Regions from separate parts of the Homo sapiens genome. Here region 2 is linked to region 1. Evidence: promoter capture Hi-C in 16 types of primary human blood cells and fetal thymus (Javierre and others, 2016). All regions are on one chromosome and are shown on one strand. The core of a region is centred on a gene start or on the middle of the fragment in contact, and the rest is flanking DNA. Distances in the headings are between cores, read along the strand shown.

What was found. The method cuts DNA at HindIII sites, captures the fragments that hold promoters and counts their contacts. A CHiCAGO score of 5 or more calls a contact.
Region 2: a contact is called between a fragment that was not itself captured here and the fragment with the promoter of WDR44 in region 1, in 1 of 17 cell types (activated CD4 T cells). The highest score is 5.8, in activated CD4 T cells.

Annotation. Positions count from the first base shown.
Region 1 is chrX:118,342,408-118,347,473 of GRCh38, forward strand. WDR44 (WD repeat domain 44) reads left to right here and starts at 3,699. Exons shown (of 20, transcript NM_019045.5): 1 at 3,699-4,173. The coding sequence starts at 4,097. RefSeq lists enhancers at 2,930-3,049, 3,240-3,289, 3,831-4,374. The HindIII fragment of the contact is 5,332 bases long and covers 541-5,066 here.
Region 2 is chrX:118,978,307-118,983,015 of GRCh38, forward strand. LONRF3 (LON peptidase N-terminal domain and ring finger 3) reads left to right here. Exons shown (of 11, transcript NM_001031855.3): 2 at 39-157; 3 at 4,515-4,637. Among named protein-coding and RNA genes, the nearest start is that of LONRF3, 6.0 kb to the left of the region's middle. The HindIII fragment of the contact is 307 bases long and covers 1,814-2,120 here.

The DNA of each region.
Region 1 (5,066 bases), core at 2,449-4,948:
GTTTTATTCTTATTTTTATCTACACACATGATTTTGCAGCATCATATGATCTGCTGAAACCATTTAATTTGAGGGTATTTTTAGTTCTGAGGTACCCTAGAAAATAGTATCTTATGGACCAAGGATCTGAAAATTTTTCTGTAAAAACGGCCTGATAGTAAATATCTTAGGCTTAGGCTTTGTGGGTCACACAGTCTCTGTCCCAGCTACTCAACTCTGCCATGATAGCGGCCATGTGCAATATATAAACAAATAGTCCTGGCTATGTTCCAACAATATGTTATTTACAAAAACAGAGAGTGGGACAGATTTGTCCAGTGGACCATAATTTGCCAACCTCTGCTTTGGACCAATAGTTTTTCATTTGTTCTTTTTTTTTATCGGGCCTTAGGACAGTCTCCGGAGATTCAAGGAAGGTCAAACAGACAGGGACCTCAACTTTGAAACCCTGTTTCAAATAGAGCAGTTTTTATTTGTATACTATATCGACTTTTGCATAAAATTAAGTTTGATTAAGGTTCCATTTCTAATACAGAGAAAAGCTTCAAAACCACTGCCTTGGATGATACCTAAAATCTGCTGCTTTAAAACTCAAGAACTGATATTTCAGGCAAAATAAACACATCTTTTACATCTTTAAAAGTGATGATGGGGCCGGGCGCGGTGGCTCACGCCTGTAATCCCAGCACTTTGGGAGGCCGAGGCGGACGGATCAAGAGGTCAGGAGATCGAGACCATCCTGGCTAACACGGTGAAACCCCGTCTCTACTAAAAATACAAAAAAATTAGCCGGTCGTGGTGGCTAGCACCTGTAGTCCCAGTTACTCGGGAGGCTGAGGCAGGAGAATGGCGTGAACCCGGGAGGCGGAGCTTGCAGTGAGCAGAGATCGAGCCACTGCACTCCAGCCTGGGCGACAGAGCGAGACTCCATCTCAAAAAAAAAAAAAACAAAAAAAAGTGACGATGGGCAGTATTTATATGTGTTTTAACGTTTCCAGCAATTCATTCTAGCAATTGGCTTTCTCATGCAATTGATAAAAGCATTTAAACGGAAACTTTAAAAGCTCTAAAAATGTTACCAGTTTATCATTCCTATCCATTTTACCTTTTTCTAAGTATAATGTTTAAGGCAGCTTAAAAGGTCCAAGAGAGCTGATATGGTATATTGAAAAAAAACAGAGCACCAAACTAGGACTCCGTATTTGTCTCCACTGCTAGATTATTAGCTTTTTGTAGGCAGAAACTTAAGTTGTCTTTTTCTGTTTTGTTTTTGTTGTTGTTGTTGTTGTTGTTTTTGAGACAGAGTCTCCCTCTGTCGCCCAGGCTGGAATGCAGCGGCGGGATCTCAGCTCACTGCAACCTCCGCCTCCCAGGTTCAAGCAATTCTCCTACCTCAGCCTCCCGAGTAGCTGGGACAACAGGCAAGTGCCACCACGCCCCCCTAACTTTTGTATTTTTAGTAGAGACAGGATTTTGCCATGTTGGCCAGACTGGTCTCGAACTCCTGACCTCAAGTGATCTGCGCACCTCGGCCTTCCAAAGTGTTAGGATTACAGGTGTGAGCCACCGCGCCGGATCTAGTTGTCTTTTTAATCTGTCAATTGTCCTCAGCATCTAGAACGCTTCATGACACCAAATTGTATATGTTTACTGAACTGAGCGACTGGTTTCCACACACGGCATTTTGTTTTTGTTGTTGCTGTTGTTTTTTGTGTGTGTGTGTGAGAGACAGGGTGTGGCTCTGCTGCCCAGTCTGGAGTGTAGTGGTGCTATCTCAGCTCACTGTAGCCTCAACCTCCTGGGCTCAAGCGATTCTCCCACCTCAGCCTCCACAGTAGTTGAGACCATAGGCACATGCCACCACACCCAGTTAAATTTTGAATTTTTTGTAGAGACAGGGTTTCACCATGTTGCCCAGGCTGGTCTGAAACTCTTGAGCTCAAGAAATCCGCCTGCCTCGGCCTCCCAAAGTGCAGGGATTACGGGCGTGAGCCACCGCGCCTGGAACTAACACCTCTATCATATAGAGAAAACTAACTTTTTTTTCTTTGGAAGCCATAAATTCACTATTAGATATCTAGGAAGAGAATACATTCAGGTAGTTAACATCTTTCCATAAATATATATTTCCCTACCTTATATCTGGTATCTTTCCATAATCCAAAAAGAAAACAAAAAAACCTATCTTAGTGAGCAAAACGTTTTTAAAAGTTAGTACTTTGAGTTACATTTTTATACCTAGGAAGTTAATTAACATGTTTAAGACACATAAAACCTAATAATTTTTAGGTTTGACAAAAGTCATACCCTCACAAGGATCCACAAATCCCTTGTCTCCAATTCTGAAACTTCAAAAGCTCTGGAAACCAAGTTTCTGTTTTTTTTTTTTTTTAGTAATTTATTTGACAGTCAAATAGATCTATCTTAAACTTATTTGGCAGAAGCGTCTGACTCAAACTGAATGAGGCTATTTACTTGTATTTATTTATCCCGTATGAACAATCATATATCTTGCTGCAAAAATATTAATATATTTGATTACGCAGTGTTTTCCCTAAACTCCCTGGGGTATTATAGAATATACAGTATATGACATTTGGTTTTTACCCAAGTCCACTAGACCACAGCAGACCTTGCCCTGATTGCTTGACAAAGTCTAGAGCCCCTTTCCAGTTTCTCTGAGACCATACCCCTGGCTCCAATCCAGCCTTTTCTTGAATACTAATTGAGGCTGCACGAACAGCTCAAAATGCCTATCATGATGTCAGTTGGAGAAATAAATATGCTGTGTGATCATACTGAAAGTCAATGTTATCACCTTGATGGTCAATGACCCGTGGTTTAAGAAGGAACATCTCGGTTTTTTAAAAAGTACCTTTCTATTTTTATCACCGGACGCTGGGCAGTTGAGGATCAGAATTAAGCCATTAGCTCGTAGGCTTGCAATGATATCTGCTCAATAAATATTTACCATTTAGCTGACGCACATCTTGGGCAGTATGTAAGAACTTCTCTCACACTGTGTTGGCAGCGACAGACATGTGCGGAGAAAAAGTAACCGGAGGCCTAATACTGGCTCAGCTCCAGCAATAAATCCATCATTACACCATGGAACTGGCACACTCCCCGTGTATATCTCAAGGACCCCACCCTCTGGCCGGCAGGATCATATCTAGGGATCTCAATTAGAGATCTCGTAGTGAATAAGGGCGAGTTATTCTCGTAACGCCAGAGGTGGTGGACCTGCCGACGCCCTAGGGTGGGACATTCCGGGCTTGGATAGTAAGACATCGTAAATATACGCCAAAATGTCCACACCAACGTTTCCCGAGAGTATTTCTTTACAAGTAAAAGACCGACTCAAAATCACCCCTCTCAAAACGCGTCTCTTTGGAACTGCAGAGTTAGGGAGTAAGACTTTCTGCCTGACCCCACCTACGTCGGCCGCGCGCTCTCAGAGCCAGGGCACCACGCTGCTCCTGCGCAGGTCCTAGACTCCTCCCTTCGGGAGGCTCACCCCCTCCCTTCTCGGCTACTTCCGGCCCTCACCGAACGCCCTCAACGCGCTTGCGCCGTTTTGATAGGCTTCTCGGGCCGAAGTAATCGGAGCGCTGCCTCTCTGGAACCGCCCCCGCCACCTCTTCGCCCCGCCCACGTATTACCGCCCCTCCGAAATCTCGCGAGGGTAGGTGCGCGTCGGTATTTTGCGGGCAACTAGCTCTTCCAGCTGCTGTAAATTGCTGCTGCGGGAGAAACTGGAGCCGCTGTAGCCGGCGCGCCCTTCTTCCCTTACTGCGAGGAGCCACCGCCTCTTTCGCGCTCCTTATACACCTATCACTGGGAGCGGTGGCAGCAACATTCCCTGGACCAACCGCCGCCTCTTCAGGCGGCCGCTTTGCCGGTCATTCCCGAAGCCCGGCAACTGAGGGCGGCCCCCTTTCCTTAACAGTCTCCTCGCTACAGATCGTCTGCTCCCTCAGCCTCGCCCGAGACCCACTTCCCCAGTCTCGCCCGGGTGGAGGTCGACGAGGAGGAGACAAGAGTCACCCTTCCTCCAGGCGGCGCCGGCCCCCTCACCCGCGGGTGTGTCCTATAAATGGCGTCGGAAAGCGACACCGAGGAATTCTATGATGCCCCTGAAGATGTGCACCTAGGGGGCGGCTACCCCGTGGGGTAAGTGACTGCAGCTATGACAGGAAGCCGGGCATCCCAAGCCCCCCGCATCTCCTGTGTCTTCCCCCTACACCCCTCCCAGGTCCCGCTGTGTCCGCCACCGCTGTTCCTCCCCGTCTCACTGGAGGACTTCAGAACCCAGACCTGGGGCTTCTTAGGGCGGGGTGACTCGGAGAAGGGGGAGTCAGCCACCTCGGGCAGCCTCCCGGCCGTTTCCCTACTGAACGGTCCCAGGGTCGGTCTCGGAGCCCGTTTCTCTTCTGATCCAGCCTTCTGTGAGGGGGAACAGCTTACGTGCCTGAGTCGGAGATTTGTATCTGTGGGGTTCTGAGCTTACCTTTCAAACATCCGTTTTGGCCTCGGGGACCGTAGATTAAAGGAGCAGTAACAGGAGAAATGTAACTTGTAGTTTTTTATTCTCCCGTTTACCGCTAACTTACCTATTCACTTCAGAGGTGGCTGTAACTCTCCCCTATTTGCCGTCCTCTTTTTCTTGCACACAGCGAAAAGGAGCGGGGGGAAGGTTGGGTATTTGCTTAAGAAAGTCCTCTAGCGAATGTACTCTAGATCAACAGTGTTTTATTAAAATAACACCTTATCGTGAGGTAAAGGAAATCGAATACACGGTCCCTATTAGGCAGAATGCGGTCTAAAAGGATGGCCAGACAGAAGAAATGTGCACAACTGACTGCAGAGGGACAAACAAGTGCTGAGTAATCTGGTGATTGGAAGGAGAGCCCCAGCTTTGTGTTCTTTATCTAATTCTGCAAGATGTTTTAGTGGTGATTAATATGGGTGATTCTGAATAGGAAGTACAGTAGTTGGAATGCTCGCTTGACTAGGACTTGTATTTACTTACCCACTTCTCCACTTTTCAAAGTTGGGGTAGTGCT
Region 2 (4,709 bases), core at 717-3,216, 630 kb after region 1:
GGGCCATTAATAAAGGTTTTTCTTTCTTATTTTGACAGCTCCAAATGACCACTTGCTTTATAGCAATCGGTCTCAGATTTATTTCACCTTGGAGTCTCATGAGAATGCACTGCATGATGCAGAAATAGCATGTAAGCTCCGCCCGATGGGTTTTAAGGTGAGTGTGGGATGGAAGAGGTGGGAAGGGGTTGTACTGTAGACAGGTATTGGCAGGAAGGGCTGCCTCCCTGGAGCATAGGGGCACTAGAGCTCAAGCAGAACAGGAAGAAGACTTTGCAAAGGAGCCAGGGTAAAGATCCCTGGGCAAAGAGTGACTCAGGTCTGCAAGGGAGCTGGATTCTTCCCCAATTCAGTCTTCAACTCATGACCTTCAGAGCAGCCTGGGCATAGTGACTCTCTAGAATATGCACTTGGGAGCCAGACTGCCTGGGTTTATGTCCCAACTCTGCTAACTTTTATGACCTTTGTGGCCCTGGGCAAATGACTTAACTTCCCAGTACTTCATCTCCTCATCTGTTAAATGGGGGATATTCAAAGCAGCTACTAAAGAGGGCTGTTGTGAGGATTACATAAGCTAATAATGTAAGGTACTTAGAACAGTGTCTGGCATGTAGCACTATATAAACGTTCTCTTTCTTCCCTTCCTTCCTTCCTTCCTTCCTTTCTCTCTCTCTCTCTTTCTGTTTTCTTTCTTTTTTTTTTTTTTTTTTTTGAGACAGAGTTTCCCTCTCGCACCCAGGCTGGAGTGCAGTGGCGCAATCTCGGCTCACTGCAACCTCCGCCTCCTGGGTTCACGCCATTCTCCTGCCTCAGCCTCCTGAGTAGTTGGGACTACAGGCGCCCGCCACCACACCTGGCTAATTTTTTGTATTTTTTTTTGTAGAGACAGGTTTTCACCGTGTTAGCCAGGATGGTCTCGATCTCCTGACCTCATGATCCGCCCGCCTTGGCCTCCCAAAGTGCTGGGATTACAGGCGTGAGCCACCGCGCTGGCTTTTTTTTTTTGAGACGGAGTCTCACTCTGCCACTCACACTGGAGTGCAGTGGCGTGATCTCAGCTCACTGCAACCTCCGTCTCCCAGGTTCAAGTGAGTCTCCCACCTTAGCCTCCCGAGTAGCTGGGATCACAGGCGTGTGCCACCATGCCCGGCTAATTTTTTGTATTTTTAGTAGTGACGGGGTTTTGCCATGTTGGCTGGTCTCAAACTCCTGGCCTCAAGCAATCCACTTGCCTCAGTCTCCCAAAATGCTGGGATTACAGGTGTGAGCCACCGTGTCCAGCCTATATAAATGTTTTCTATCGCCATTTTTATCATTTTCCAGGGACATTAGAAAGAGGAAGGTGAGAGTGGTGTTGCTGCCCTGGTGCTCCTGAACCTCTACTGATAGGCTCCTTGGCAGCTTGGCCAGTTTTCTCTGAAGGGATCCTCACACTCACACAATGGTTGTGCCATTTCAAGTCCTTAATATAGTCAGTCAGCCTGCCAGTATCCCCAAGGATTTAGGTCACATGGGGGGTGAGAAGAAAAACGGCCTGGACACCTCTCAGGATGCCAGGATGCAAAGTGTCACTTTCTGTATCTTTGCCTGGCTTCAGGACTGGCCCTCAGCCACATGTCAGTACTTTGTTTAGAAGATTAGATTTGAGCCTGTGCTCTACTACTTGCAAACCATGGGGAGGTGGCTTCACTCTCTGAACCCCAAGTATCCTTGTTTGCAAAATGAAGCTATTGATATCTGCCCTGATTGCCTCGCAATGATGCAATGAGGGTCAAAAGTGAACGTGGCCAAGAGGACATTCTGCAAGCTATAAAGCTTCCTGGATGTAGTGCTCTGTCTCTACACAACCCAAGGATGCCTTCCTCAGAAAACCAATGTATCCAAGTTCAAGTCCATGATCCCTTATCTGAATCTTGTAAGACCAGAGGTGTTCAGAATCCAGAATGTTTTATATTTTGCAAGGACCATATATTAGGTCTCAGTGAGCTCTGGACAGCTTCCTGTAATCCAACACACTATTCAGCAGATTCCATGAAAATTCACACTCAGTGGGACAAATATTTTTAAACACTTTATATCAGTTTAGGTCAGGTTTTGCCATCTAATGAATTTTGATGTCAAGCTTATGAAAATAATGGATTATCAGAACTTTTTTGGATCTGGAAACCAGATAAAGCATGTGGACCTGTGTACTGTGCAATGAATGTCAGGTGAATCTTGTATGTTCTTTCTTGAGAAGGTTTTCATGAGTGATGATGGATTCATTTTTTTTTCTGAGAAGGTTTTCTTGAGTAATGATGGATTAGTATGGTTTTTTTTCCCCAAAGAACACATTTAGTGTTTAATACAAGTCACCAGTGTCTTAACCCAAAGGAGCTTTAGTGGGGGCACTTTCAGCCTCCCAGTAGTGCAAGTCAGGGAGCTGCCTAGGAGTAAGAGGACTTGCAACTCTTTCCACCTCCACCCTAAGCCTAGATCCTAGGGCTAAGGAACTTGATAGTGTGGTGAGAAGCAGAGCTGAGAAGCAGTGAAGCATTTTGGATGAAATGGGAAAAGTGACTTCTCCAGTGAAGGAAGAGTTGATGAAAGTATTAAATAGGAGTTTCATTTCCCCATAGTGATGAAGTGAGAGGTGGGGGCAGTGATGAGATAATTTATTTTCTTGGAGGTTAAGAGAAGACGAACTGATGCCTATAATTCAAAACCACCTCCCACCCTGATTTGCATATTTCCCAACATTTCTATGTAAAATGCCCCAAGTGTAGGGGTTTATCTGGCAGCCCTATTCTCTATTCCAGCCATCCAACCAGAGTGTGTGGTACTCAGCACATCCTGCAGGTGATACAGCTCTCAGTGGTGTGAGCTGGTTGCCCTGAGCAGGTAGAGTATATGGGTTGGCCGGGCATGGTGGCTTACTCCTGTAATCCCAGCACTTTGGGAGGCTGAGGCAGGTGGATAACTTGAGGTTAGGAGTTTGAGACCAGCCTGGCCAACATGGTGAAACCCCATCTCTACTAAAAATACAAAACTTAGCCAGGCATGGTGACGCATGCCTGTAGTCCCAGCTACTCAGGAGGCTGAGGCCGGAGAATCGCTTGAACCTAGGAGGTGGAGGTTGTAGTGAGCCGAGATCCACCACTGCACTCCAGCCTGGGTGACAGAGCAAGATTCTATCTCAAAAAAAAAAAAAAAAGAGTATATGGATTGCTACTTGATAATATGATTAGTGGGATCACACAGAGGCCTTTCCAGTCTCCCAACACTTCTCCCCTCTAGCTGCCCTGTGATATCATGCAAGCCTTTCCCAAACACCCTTGGTAAACACTGCTGGGAGAAGCAACAAGGGAGGCCATCAACATCCATGTATCAGCCAAGACAAGGCTTCAGAAGGAGCTGGGGGAATGCGGAAAGGTCTTCAAGAGGTTTGGAGCAGGGGCCACTGCTCAAGAAGGCAGCTTCAGGGCAGCCTCTGCAGCGAGGCCATAGCCTGAGGGCTCTGGGGCCTGCAAAGAGGCATGTTAGAAAGGGGGGCAGGGGAGTATCCAGCAGCCACAACCTGGATCACTTCATTCACTAAGTTAGGCTTAGTACTGCCAATGGAGGAGGCAAGGGAGCAGGCCACTGGGTGGAGGGACGTCCTAGATGACTCAAGTGAAATGCTCTTCAAGCCAAGTTGCTAGTGTCCACCTGTCTCAAGACACACACAGAGGGCAGCCCTCTCCCCCGCTACTCTTTTTTCTTCCTTCTTCCCCAGGATGTTCCTCTGCCCTCCCTAGAGTGTCTTTCCCAGAGCAGTTGGGCTTGGGCCCTGAGGAGCCATAAACTTCTTTATACTTTCTAAAGTATGTGGTGAGGGAGCAGAAGTGATCCAGGCCCCTAGGAGAGTAAGCTCAGCCCCTGGTTAGCCCTCTGAAGGGCAGTCTGCTTTGTGGAGAAGAGCATTCTGGGAGTCCTGAGACTGCAGTTCTAGTTCCAGCTTTGCCACTAGCGACCTTTGAGGTCTTGGAGAGGTCAGATCCCTTCTCCTGGGCCTCTTCTGAAAACTGATCAGTTAGTGTAGGTGCTCTTTCAAGCCACTACTGAGGACTGGTTCTCTGCTTGAGAGACTAGTTCAAACGAACGCATACCTGGGCAGGCCCTGAAAGCTGGTTAGCATGTGGTCAAATGGGGGTTCTTGCTACATTTGATGGTCACTCCGTACAATGGTGGGGCAGAGACAAGGTAGTATGGCAGAGTGGTTAAGAATACAGGCTTTGGTATCAGTCAGTCCCAGGTTCAAACCCTGATTCCACAATTTACCAGCTGTGTTACACTGGGCAAGTTAACGTTTTTGGGTTTCAGTTTTGTCTTCTTTATAATGGCATTAGAACAGTTGCCCGCATTTTAGGGCTGTAGATAAGAGAGTCCTTTTAAAATGTTTCACACAACAGTGAGTGCTGTGGGTTAGTTATTGTTAGAGCAGTAGTGTTAATAGGCTGAATAAAATGGGATTGAATGCTAATGTTTCCTTCCAGGCACATTTCAGAAAAGCCCAAGCCTTAGCCACCCTAGGCAAGGTGGAGGAGGCACTAAGGGAGTTTCTCTACTGTGTATCCCTTGATGGAAAGAACAAGAGAGCAAGATGTGAAGCCCAAAGAGTGAGTTGAAATGACATCAGGTCCAGCTGCCTACTGGACCCTCCCCTCTCTGTCTTATCTAGGAAGGGGAGT